2 separate regions of the Homo sapiens genome follow, and region 2 is linked to region 1. The links are contacts of gene promoters, found by promoter capture Hi-C in human tissues and cell types (Jung and others, 2019). All regions are on one chromosome and are shown on one strand. Each heading gives the region's core, a stretch centred on a gene start or on the middle of the fragment in contact. The rest is flanking DNA. Distances are from core to core; before and after follow the strand shown. Region 1 holds the start of CSF2RB (colony stimulating factor 2 receptor subunit beta). Region 2 overlaps IFT27 (intraflagellar transport 27).

What was found. The method cuts DNA at HindIII sites, captures the fragments that hold promoters and counts their contacts. A contact is called where the count stands out against the background at its distance.
Region 2: a contact is called between a fragment that was not itself captured here and the fragment with the promoter of CSF2RB in region 1, in 1 of the 25 tissues and cell types used here (bladder).

The regions. Positions count from the first base shown.
Region 1 is chr22:36,909,799-36,916,057 of GRCh38, reverse strand. It overlaps CSF2RB (colony stimulating factor 2 receptor subunit beta), which reads right to left and starts at 2,430. Exons shown (of 14, transcript NM_000395.3): 1 at 2,381-2,430. RefSeq lists an enhancer at 3,896-4,597. The HindIII fragment of the contact is 4,511 bases long and covers 218-4,728 here.
Region 2 is chr22:36,768,076-36,774,334 of GRCh38, reverse strand. All of the region lies in intron 1 of IFT27 (intraflagellar transport 27), which reads left to right. Among named protein-coding and RNA genes, the nearest start is that of IFT27, 4.9 kb to the left of the region's middle. The HindIII fragment of the contact is 5,942 bases long and covers 849-6,259 here.

The DNA.
Region 1 (6,259 bases), core at 1,181-3,680:
AAAGATAAGTCATAACCTGGGAGAATATATTTTCAACATATATAAATGGATTATTAATACACGTAATAAATGAGTCACTCCAAAAGTTAAGATGTAAAAGAGAATTCAACAGGAGATGAACAAAAATTTCTCCACATTCATCATAAATGAAATCCAAAAGGCCAATCCACATATAGAAAATGTACAACTTCACCCATAATCAGGGAAAGAAAAAAATCACGCGACATTGAGAATTTCCATACATAATATTGGACAAAATTAGAAGATTGATAATTTCTCTAAAGGTAAATTGGACCCTTTATGCACTACCTTGGGGACGTCAGCTTAGCTCAGCTACTTTGAGGCTGATTTGACAATACCTATTATAATTTCTAACGCACAACCTCTGCACAGCAATTCTGCATTTAGTAATTTAGGCTACAGAAACACTTTCACAGATGTGGAAAAATTAGAAACAATCTAGGTGTCGATCAACGTGAGATTAGATGAATTGTGGTGTACCCATCCTAATAAATGCCACATATTTCTTAGGGTTACTTAACGAGTTAAATCTGTATGTATTATTGTAGAAATTTGGAAATATTCCAAAATACAATATTAAGTGAAAAAATTAGGAATATATATATATATATATAAATAAAATAATCCCATTTCTGTAAAAAGAAAAACTACCATCCTGGCACAGTGGCTCAAGCCTGTAATCCCAGCATTTTGGGAGGCTGAGACAGGCGGATCATCTGAGGTCAGGAGTTCGAGACCAGCCTGGCCAATATGGTGAAACCCTGTCTCTACTAAAAATACAAAAATTAGCCACGTGTGGTGGCTCATGCCTGTAATCCCGGCTACTCAGGAGGCTGAGGCAGGAGAATCACCTGAACCCGGGAGGCAGAGGTTGCAGTGAGCCAAGATTGCACCACTGCATTCCAGCCTGGGCGACAAGAGTAAAACTCTGTCACAAAAACAAAACAAAACAAAACAAAAAACAAACAGGAAAAGAAAAACTATATGCTTGTATCATGCTTAGAAAATGTTCTGGAAGAATACATGTGGTGAAAAGAATAAGCTATGGAACTAGGGAAAAGAAATTGCTGGGGACTTTGTCTCTTGTGCTACATAATTCTAGATTATTCTAATTTTCATGAAGGTAGGTTTCTGTGTAGTTGCTTGTTTAGCATTAAATACATTCCTTATACAACTCATGAATTATCCTGTGGTGTTGGTATATCTGTATACTGGAACAATATAAATAAAACTGCTGGATGAAAAAAAGAGTGACCAAAAGCTAATAGGAAATGTTTACTCATTATAAAATGATTACAAAGCAGGAAAGATGATAGAAAAAAATTAGAATTGGGCTGTACAAAAATATAACAGCAGGGTTTTTGAAGACTAAAAATTGCACATATGCAGCTTGTCGCTAGCACCTGTCTGACAAGGTCCCAGTGAAACACCTGCCCTTTCATTCTCAGGGCCAGTACACACACCTGCACACACCCTGAAGCAGGCACCCCAGATACCCACCCACCCAGCCAGCATACTTGGGTACAGAACACACACACCTGGGCCCCAACCCAAATCAGCAACCCAAATCAGCAGGGCAGAGTGTCATAACTAAAAAGACAGACAGACAGAGAGAGAGACTGAGAGAGAGAGAGAGAGAGAGAGAGATTGCTGGATAGTGCCTGGTATGTCTCTGGGCAAAGTGCTGGGCTCTTTCTCAAGTTCAAAGTGAGCTTCTCAAGCCACACCGCACCCAGCTCTGGGCCTCAGCGCAGCAAGCTTCCAGGTTTCACCCTCTGCCTCTTAGTCTCTCTGCACTCCTGCATCCCCAGACATCCGCACATGCACATACACACACAGGCACACACACAAATGCACACACGGGCAAACACACGAGCATGCGTTCTCTCTCTTTCTAAACCAAGATGTCAGGGACTATCCATGCTCCCCATTCCACAGATGAGGAGACAGAAGCCCAGGGTGGACAGGGGGTGCTCTCACTACCACCAGCATCTTAGTGACAAAGCGAAGACAGACTATAGGTGCCTGACTCCCAGGCCTGAGCTCTCTTCACCCCACTAGGCGTCCTTCCCACCAGGACCAACCAGATCCCGCTAGCGAGGCTGAGTCCTCCCCAGAGCTCTCCTACAACACCCAAGCAGCTTGGCACCCCTGGCTGCCTCCCCATCCACTGGCCGCCCTAGGAGTCTGGGCTCAGGTCATCCTAAGAGGCCAAGCCCTAACTCCTCCAAGTCCCCAGGGCACAGCTACCCACAGGACGCCCCCCAGGCTCCCCCTGTCCTTTTTCATCCTGGACTCCCCACATTCCCCCCTGCTCTGACCCCACCCCTCAGCCCTGCTCCTGGACGCCGGGCCATACCTCTGTGTGGTGGGAGAGACCAGTCTTCTTCTGGAGCCTCTAGGCAGAGTGAGCCTCCCACGTTTCCTATTTATGTTGATGTCATCAGGAAACAGAGAAGCAGAAAGAGGAAGCAGTGCCGGCCCAGGCCTACTTTGCTAATAGTGCACGTGACTTTTCTTACTTCCAGAAAGCCTCCTACTCCAATTTACCTTCCTATAAACTCCTAGGCCTCCTTCAAGCCTCAGCTGACGCAGGGCCTCCTCCATGCAGCCTTCCCTGACTGCTTGATGGGGATGCAGGTGGAAGTGGCTGCAATAACCATAGCTGGTTTGAGCCCAGAGCCAGACAGATCTGTGTTGGACTTCCAAGTCCACTGCTTCTTAAAGCGTGTCCTTGTGCAAATCATCTGCGTGTTACTTCCCCAAGCCTCGGGACATCCATCTGTCTGTTACTTTTGCAGAAGCATCTACAAACCTGGAAGGACTGTTGAGGGAATCCAGTGAGATTCTGTGCAGGAAGACCTTAGCTCAGAGCTGGCCACAGGAGAACCCCCTACAAGTGGTAGCTGGTGGCATGTTGATTTCCCCGATGTCCTCTTTGCCCTGCCGCCCCACCCCACCATGTGTCATATGGTCATGTGTGTTCATGGCTGTCTTTCTTCTGACACTATCTTCAGTGCTGGCTTGTGTCCGGCTTGCACTTCCCTCCCAAATACCTAGCACATGGCCTGGTACAGAGGAGAAATTGCACCTTTGACTGTGTGCAAATGAATAGATGAATGAATGAATGAATGAATGAATGAATGAATGAATGAGTGGCTCCCTGAGCACAGCAGGGCCAGCAGAATTAAGGTCAGGTGAGTGAGGCAGTCTCTCGTGCTCAAAATTTAAACAGGCATTTAAAAATTCAGTAATTGTTGTAAGTAATATTTTAATGCAATATGGTTTAAAAAAATCCCAACTGATGCAGAAACTATTCACGGTGAACCAAATATGAAAAGTTTGAATAAAGACAAGATGAATCACAGTGCCAAGACACAACAAAACGCAGTCATATTTCTCCTACATGGGGCTGCCTCCCAGGAGAAAGGGCAGCAGGCAGGAATGAGGGGAATGGAGGGCAAGAATGAGGGGAATGGAGGAAATGGAGGGGCAGGAACCTGCCTCGAAGCCACTGGAATTCTGGCCTGATTGTTGTTCTTTGCTTTCCTCCTACCAGGAAGGGCAGGGTTGGCCAGGAAGAGCTGGCAGGGCCTCACCCTAGCAGAGAAAGCCCAGGGTAGAGGAAGGCATGTGTGGTTCTCTCAGGCACTCCGGTCAGTGTGAGGTCCCTGCCTGGCATGGAAAAACCCTGCAGGGGCTTCTCCAGGGCTGGAGAGGATGGAATTAAAGTGACGTCCCGGGCTCTCTTTTCTCCCAGGTGTCCCCACTCTGCCTGTCTTTGCTGAGGTCCTCTGTGGGACTGGGAGGCTGCGGGCCTGGATGCCCTCAGGAGCACAGAGGATGCTGTCTGGTGGAGAAACGAAGAACCCGAGACTCTGAGTCAAAATCACTCCGGACACCAGACCCAAAATGTGAAGGAGCTTTAGGAACACCTCAGCCAATTCACTTGACTGACCCTTTCCTTTTAAAAGTCATCATAGAGCAGCAGGGGATAAAAATCTACATTTGAATGAGTCTAACAGAGTTCTCTCAATAAGTATTAAAAGTTCTAAGCGAGAAGAATCACACCGTCAGGAATTCATTGAATGTTTTCGTTTGTTTGTTTGTTTTTTCCTTCAGTGGTATGTAAAATACCGTGTCTTGCAATTGACGATCTTTTAGAGACTAAGAAACCCAAGAAAATGTTGGCAAGAACGTAGTACTCATAATGACCAGGGCTTGAGCATTTACGCTGTGAGCAGACCTTCGGCTGGGGGCTTCTCCATCTCTTCCCAATAACCTTTATGTAGCTGTTACTGTCTTCACCTTACAGATGAAGAAATTGAGGCATGAAAAGGAAGATAACTTGTTGAAAGTAGTAACTCGTATATGTTAACATTGCATTTTTTTCCATTTCCATTTTTATTCTGAAACTATTTCAAAATACAGAGCGTTAAAGGAATGATACAAAGAACTCTCACATACCCTTCATGTGGAAACCCCCTTTGAGTTTCGCTAAGCTTCTCAATAATGGTTTTGTAACAAGAAAATCCATCCGGGACTTTGCATTCTCTCTAAATGCATGGCTCTTAGTTGCCATGTCTTTCGGGCCTCCAGTTTGAAACAGATGCCTTGTTTTTTCCTCGACATCTCGAAGACTGCAGGTTGGTTGTTTTGAATAATGTCCCTCGATTTGGCTCTGTCTGATGATTAGAACTGGGTTATGCTTTTTTGGCCAAAATAGCACAGAAGTGATGCTGGATTATTCTTGGTGAGTCCTATTAGCTTTCATTGTCAATCTGTCCCATCACTAATGTCGTTCGCTCTGATCATTTGATTAACTTGACACCAATCAAGTTTCTCTATTGTAAAGTTACTTCCCCTTCCACATCGTAATTTATAAGCATTTGGTAGGGAGATACTTTTAAGCTTTCTCATCCCACTCCCACACTTGTATAATTTCAGTATGCAATGATGTTCCTTAATTTAATTAAACATTATCATGATGATCATTGCCAAATGGTGACTTTTAAAAATTCTGTCATTCAGAAGTCCTAGCCAGAGCAATCTAACAAGAGAAAGAAATAAAAGACATCCAAATAGGAAAAGAAGAAGTCAAACTTTCTCTCTTCCTTGATGATATGATTTTATACCTAGAAAACCCTAAAGACTCCACCAAAAGTCCCCGGGAACTGATGAACAACTTCTATAAAGTTGGAAACAAAATCAATGTGCACAAATCAGTAGTATTTCTGTGCACCAATAAAGTTCAAGCTGAGAGCCAAATCAAGAATGCAATCCCATTTGCAATAGTCACACACACACACACACAAATAAAATACTTAGGAATGCAGCTAAGCAAGGTCATAAAAGATCTCTACAAGGAGAACCACAAAGCACTGGTAAAAGACATCATAGATGACACAAACAATTGGAAAAACATTCCATGCTCATGGATTGGAAGAATCAGTATCATTACAATGGCCATACACCCAAAGCATTCCACAAACTCAATGCTATTCCTGTCAAACTACCACTGTCATTTTTCACAGAATTAGAAAAAACTATTCTAAAATTCATATGGAACCAAAAAAAAGCTCGAATAGCCAAAACAATCCTGAGCCAAAAGAACAAAGCCTGAGGCATCACATTACACAAATTAAAACTATACTAAGGCTACAATAATCGAAGCAGCATAGCACTGGTATAAAAACAGACACATAGACCAATGGAACACAGAAATAAAGCTGAATACCCGCAGCCATCTGATCTTCAACAAAGCTGACAGAAATAAGCAATGGGGGAAGCACTCCCTATTCAATAAATGGTGATACGATAGCTGGCCAGCCATACACAAAAGAATGAAACTGGACCCTTACCTTTCACCATATACAAAAATTAACTCAAGATGGATTAAAAGTTTAAATGTAGGACCTCAAATTATAAGAATCCTAGAAGAAAACCTAGGAAGCACCACTCTAGACATCATTCTTGGGGAAAAATTTATGACTAAGTTCTTAAAAGCAATTGCAATATAAACAAAAATTGACAAGTGGGTCCTAAGTAAACTAAAAAGCTTCTGCACAGCAAAGGACACTATCAACAGAGTAAACAGACAACCTACAGAATGGGAGAAAATATTCGCACACTGCATGCAGCAAGGGTCTAATATTCAGAATCTGTACAGAACTTAGGCAATTCAGCAAGCAAAAAATAAAATAAAATAAAATAACCCCAATAAAAAGTGGGCAAAAGA
Region 2 (6,259 bases), core at 2,570-5,069, 140 kb after region 1:
TATATAGAGAAAAAGAGATTCCTGTTTTAAAAAATTCCCCTCTTCCAGACTGAGAATAAATGATAATATTTTTAATGGCTTTTATAATTTGAAAATAAAAGGGTCACACAGAAAGATGACTGACAGTAGTAACTGAATCATACTGGAGCAAAATAAATTAATGGTTCTCAGGAGAATCTCCAGTTTCCAGAGCACCAGAGGAGGCAGTGTTGTGTAACAAAAGTAATTTTGCCTGTTCCTCTTATTGGCTGTGTCATCTTGGACGAAGCACTTTTTGAGCTTTAATTTCCTTATGGATAAGGTGGGAACATTATTTTCTGAAGTTACTTTTTTTTTTAAATGGGCTTCTCTCTGGGTTCTTTTTAAATTCGGTTTTCATCATGGAGCTAACTTACTGGCGCTTTGGGTGCATCAGCTCTGCTAGACCCTCAATACAGGTGGTCTCATTGAATCCTCATAGCAACCCTGTGGGATTGGCATTATTGCCATCCTCATTTACAGATGAGGCAACTGAGGCCCAGAAAAATGAGAACATTTGCCATGGGTCACAGAGCTGGAAGTGGCAGAGCTGTATGATCCAGACCCTGGGTCCCAATCTGATTTCCAGGGCTTTAGCCCAAGCTACTCTGTCCTCAAGTAGTGCTCCTCTGTGTCCTTCTATTTTTTTTTTTTTTTTTTTTGAGACGGAGTTTCACTCTCATTGCCTAAGCTGGAGTGCAATGGCACAATCTCAGCTCACTGCAACCTCCACCTCCTGGGTTCAAGCGATTCTTCTGCCTCAGCCTCCCAAGTAGCTGGGATTACAGGCGCCCACCACCATACCCAGCTAATTTTTTGTATTTTTTAGTGGAGACTGGGTTTCACCATGTTAGCCAGGCTGGTCTTGAACTCCTGACGTCAGGTGATCTGCCCGCCTCGGCCTCCCAAAGTGCTGGGATTACAGGCGTGAGTCACTGTGCCCGGACCTTTTTTTTTGAGGCGTAATTTCACTCTGTCTCCCAGGCTGGAGTGCAGTGGTGCACAACCTTAGCTCACTGCAACTTCCACCTCCTGGGTTTAAATGATTCCCTGCCTCAGCCTCCCGAGCAGCCGGGGATACAGGCACACACCACCATGCCCAGTTAATTTTTGTATTTTTAGTAGAGATGGGGTTTCACCAGTTGGTCAGGCTGGTCTTGAACTCCAGACCTCAAGTGATCCACCTGCCTCAGCCTCCCAAAGTGCTGGGATTACAGGCGTGAGCCACCCACTATGCCCGGCCTCTTTGTGCCCTTCTTTACCCCCAACTCCCTTGGGTAGTTCTTTCACCTGAGTGCAGCCACTGCCTAGTTAGTGGCTCCTGAACTCCAGCCTGCGCCTCAATCTGCAGCCTCTTTTCAGGGATTCCACAGCATTTCCTCTTGGAAGTTTCCAGGGACCAAAAGACCTCAGCCCAGAAATCAGCCCCCTCTGACACCTGTCCACCCACCCCCACCACACACATGCCATTGGTTTTATTTTTCCATCCATGACCCACAGCCCTACTGTTTAAACTGAGTTACTCTGTTTTTTCTCTCACATAACTGGTCATTGAAGGACCTGACGTTCAGTTCAAGTGTTTATGCATTGAACAGATACTCGCTGAGCACCTACTACGTCAGAGTCACCGTGCAAGGTGCAGTGGGCCTGCAAGCATGAGTCAGTTGCACTCAAGGAAGAACTAAGATGCGTGTGATACGTTCTAACACAGCGAACACAAAGTGAATGCCCTTTGTGTGCCAGATGCGGGGAAATGCCTCCAGGCACAGCTGCTACTTGTTCTGGTTCTGGAGAAGAAAGAAAACAACATTTGACATTGATCTGTATTTTGTTTACTTTTAAAAAAACACTTAAATAGTACTTATATATGCCAGGCACTGTGCATATTAACTCATTAAATCCTCATAACAATTCTGTGGGGTAGGTGCTATGATTATCTTAGGTTATACATGTTGCAGCTGAGGCACAGAGAGGTTAAGTAACTGATTTAAACTCACACAGCTAGAAAGTGATGGAGCTGGAGTCTGGCTCCAGAGTCTGTGCCCTTAAGTACCATAATATGCTGCCTCTTGATATACATGGAGATGGTAATAGAGCCTCCTGGGAGGGTTGCTCTGACATCACATCGTGCGCTACCACTGAGCAACGATCCACGTTAGCCACACAGATAAAGATGAAGGAGGGAGAGATGGCCTTCAGAGGCTGTGCAGGAAGGGTATTCTTTGAGCTTTCCTTGCAGAGAATGGACAGGATTTGAATTTGGTCTAGGGGTACCTGGAAGGAGGTGGCCTTGAGGAATTTCCAGGGACTGGGCGAACAGGAATGCAGAGCCCAGATTTGGGGTAAGGGATTACTAGGGAGAGAGTGGGAAGGTGGGTTAGGGCTGACCGTGGAGATGGGTAGGCTATGAAGGAATCCTCAGTGGGGTTTGTGTGAAGGTTTGCCAAGATGGAGGCACTGTGTCATGGGGGTCCACCTGTTGATGCCACCCACTGGGTGGATAACAGCCGGGAGAAAAAAGAAGAGAAAAGAAGTGTTCAAGGCACAGTCGGGAAGACAGAAAACGCAGTCGTCATTTCAGCAGAGAAATTTTAATGTATGGAATTGCTTCATCAAGTGTTGGAGAACTGAGGAAGCAAGAAGGCAGCATTGAGTTGACACAGATTGGCGGGCAGAGGTCGGGGTTGTCAGAAGCTTGAAGAGACCCAGGGAGCTGGGATCCGGACCCCTGAGGAAGGGGCCCTGCCCGGCTGGTCCCGGCACCTCAGGAGTTCAGTCACCTGCCGCGTGACCCCAGCACATGCCACAGAGCACCAGGACCCATTTCCCACTGGGAGGAGCCCAGCCCTGTGTTCAGGGCAAGACACACCAAACCAGTTCCAAACCATCCTGGAGGGTCCATGTTTTAAGACCACTCCTGGTACCAAGGACTACATAAGTCAGGGGCCAGGCAAAAACCAGCAACTCTACTCGGCATTTCAACAGTGAGGATTTCAGTAGGATGTGAATGACACTGGTGCTAGAGGACTGGAAGAGGAAAAGGGGGAAACTGAGGCAGCACGGGTAGTAACTGCAGGAAGGAGCACCACCTCTTGGGCTGGGGAAGCAGAGGGAAGCATGTGGGGCTCTCAGCCCAGAAGCAGGGAGGAGGGGCCCTGGGAGCCAAGGTGTGGATCTCTGAGAAGAGGGCACTGCCCGCTGGCGCTGTTTCCTCTGGGGGCAACAATAAGCTGGTCTGGGAGTAGGGAAACACACACACACACACACACCCCAAGACAGGAAGCAGTTAGTGCTGCTGGGGTGCAGGCCATTGCTAGGGTAGTACTAAGAAAAAGGAGAAGCAGGCGGGAAGAGCAGTGTCCTCTCCCCCGACTCCAGCCTTCCCTTCTTCTTCCAGAACTCCCATTGGCAGAGCCTAACAGGAAGCTCCTAGCAAGGGAGAAATGTGTCTGCAGAGGCCCCTCCCCTGCACACTGTGGAAGGATGGGCTTGGGGCTGAGATAGAAACCCAGCAGTGAGGCTGAGCTAACTGGGGCAGGGTCAGCAGGGAGGGCCGAGCAGAGGTGGGCTGAGACTCAGCCAAGGATGTGAGGAATGCAAGGGAGGCTGCCTGAAGATGGGAGGAAGGAGGAGGAGCAGTCAGAGGTGACCCGTTGAATCTGGGGACGATGAAAACACACGGTGGCGTCACAAACAGAAAGCTTGGGTGATGGGGGCAGCCCACTCAGGACCAGGGCATGACGGAGCTTGGCTGTAGACAGACTGAGGTTGGAGGAAGGTCCTTCATTCTAGTGGCAACGCACACGGGTTTTTGGATATACAGACAAAGCTTGGGAGGGAGATCCTGCCTTCTGTCAAGGTGATGAGAGTCAGTGGGACGGAGTGGACTAGGAGCAGAGCGCCGCCGATGACAGGCCCATGGGAATGCCCACACTCGGGGGGCAGAGGGGCAGGCAGATAGCAGGAGAACCAGGCCAGGGCAGGGTCACTGAGGCCACGGGGACAGGACTCGGGAAGGAAGGGGTCACTTCAGGCTGACTCACATCCTTCAGAGAAGTCAAGGAGGATGAGAACCAAGAAAAGGCCATCGGCCTTGGCAACTGTGAGGTCACAGGTGATCTCGCATCGTGCCCTTGCAGACGTCATCCTCTCTGTCCTGCAGCGCCCTGCCTGCTGTCGCCCCCAGGCCCAGCCCTTGCCCCTAGGGAAGCCTCCCTCCCCAGTGAATCCTCTCATTCATTTCTTTTCTCGATGCTTCCCAGACGCCTTGCTTCTCAGTTTGTGCTATTTGAATTTGCACTTGTCATCCTGTTGCTCTGCAAATGTGTTTATCAGTTATTTCACCTCCCTGTGCTTCTGAGCCCTCATAGCCAACACAGGCGGTTTCCTGTAAGTGTTGGTGACTCTGACTGACAGTCAGAGGAAAGATTTATGAAATTAACCAGAACAAATCTGTGAGGAATCTCATAAGCAGGAGGAGCCAACTTCCAGCTGAATTCAGGAGCAGAGCTGAAGTTGGGAGGGCGGGTGCAGTCAGGGCCCAAGGAAGGAAAGCGATGCGCTCTGTTTGCTCCGAGATGGGTGGGTACCCCTTGACAGTCTAGGCTGTGGTTGCCCCAGATGTCATGGAAGGCGGTGAGGAGGGCTTGGAGGGACAGCATTAAAAATGGGTCAGAACTCACTTCTGTAATCCCAGCACTTTGGCAGGCAGAGGCAGGCAGATCACCTGAGGTCAAGAGTTTGTGATCAGGCTGGCCAACCTGGTGAAACCCCGTCTCTACTAAAAATACAAACATTAGCTGGTCATGGTGGCGTGCACCTGTAGTCCCAGCTACTCGGGAGGCTAAGGCAGGAGAATCACTTGAACCCGGGAGGCGGAGGTTGCAGCGAGCCTAGATCGCACCACTGTACTTCAGCCTGCGTGACAGAGACTCCATCTCAAAACAAGAAAAGTGTCAGAAGTGGTCCCTGAGCTCTAGGAGAGGAGCAGGGCCTGGGAAGAGCGTGAGGTTGGAATCCTGGGCGAGTTACCCAGCCTCTCTGAGCCTCAGTCTCTTCATCTGTCAGGTAAGGTGAATGATACCTTGGCGGGGAAGGAATGAATGGGATTGTGTGAACAGGTCCATGAGGGGGGCTCAGCACATATTGGTTCCCTTCTAAGGAGTGATGACAAATAGAAAAGCAGGACCTGAATAGCTCACTCAAACCTGGAGGAGTTCACATAAAATGAAATGCCACAAGCATTGAAATAATTGTCTTACAAGGGAAAATTATAGGTGGGAAAAGTCAAAACTGAAAAGTGAACAGTGGCAGACTGTTGAGAAGTCGAGGAAAGGAGTGTTGAAGCCGACTGTAAAATGGGAAGCAAAGGTGAAGAGATGGTACCAAGTGATGTGAGTTGGAAGCCGCGGAGGGCGGTGCTGATTTTGCTAAGGATCCAGAGGATGAGAAGCAGAAAGCACGTGTTCTGCCAGGACCTGGACGGTGGAGTGCAAGTCCACGTAAGACTCAGGAGGAAAAGAGGCTGCAAATGGAAACAATCAGCATCAAAGGAGGCTCAGCAGAGCCATGAGAGGGAAAATGGGGAGGGCAAAGGGAATTAAAGATGGGCAGGGAGAGCTTCCAGCACCCGTGACGGGCACGGGAGGAGCGCTCGATTAAATGGCTCCCAGCAGTCTTGTGAAAGGCTCAGGTCTCAGACTGAAAACTGCGACATAAACCTTTAGTTCTGAGGGACCAGTTTCTGGGGCTGTTGACCAGCAGAGGAGAGGGAGATAAAGCCAGTAGGTGAGAGATGAGCTTGGAGGAGGTGACTGCTATTGCAGATAGAATTGGTGGAGAGGCCCCTGGGAAGAAGAATCCTTGGGTCACAGACAGGTATTCTGCGATGGAGATGGAGCATAGCATTTGGAAAGAGATTTCAGAATGATGAACACAGCCTCAGACTTCTTGCTTCCCACAAATGCAGAGACCCTTCCACCCCCCACGCCCCACACAAAAAAGTATTCAGGTGGAAGCTGTCAACCCAGGTTGGGTCAGTTGGACAGGTGACTCTGCCTGTCAGTGCCAGTCACACTTCTTTACCTTCAAGACTTCAAAGTAAATTCCAGTTTGGAAGTGACAGCTTTTCCCCATAGGGCGTGTTTCAGTGGAAGAGCGTCAGTTCCGTTTCCAGGGCCCCAAAGCCCTCTGTAAGTTCTGTTACCTTCTGGGTCAGTTCCTGTGGATAAAAGGCTTAGCC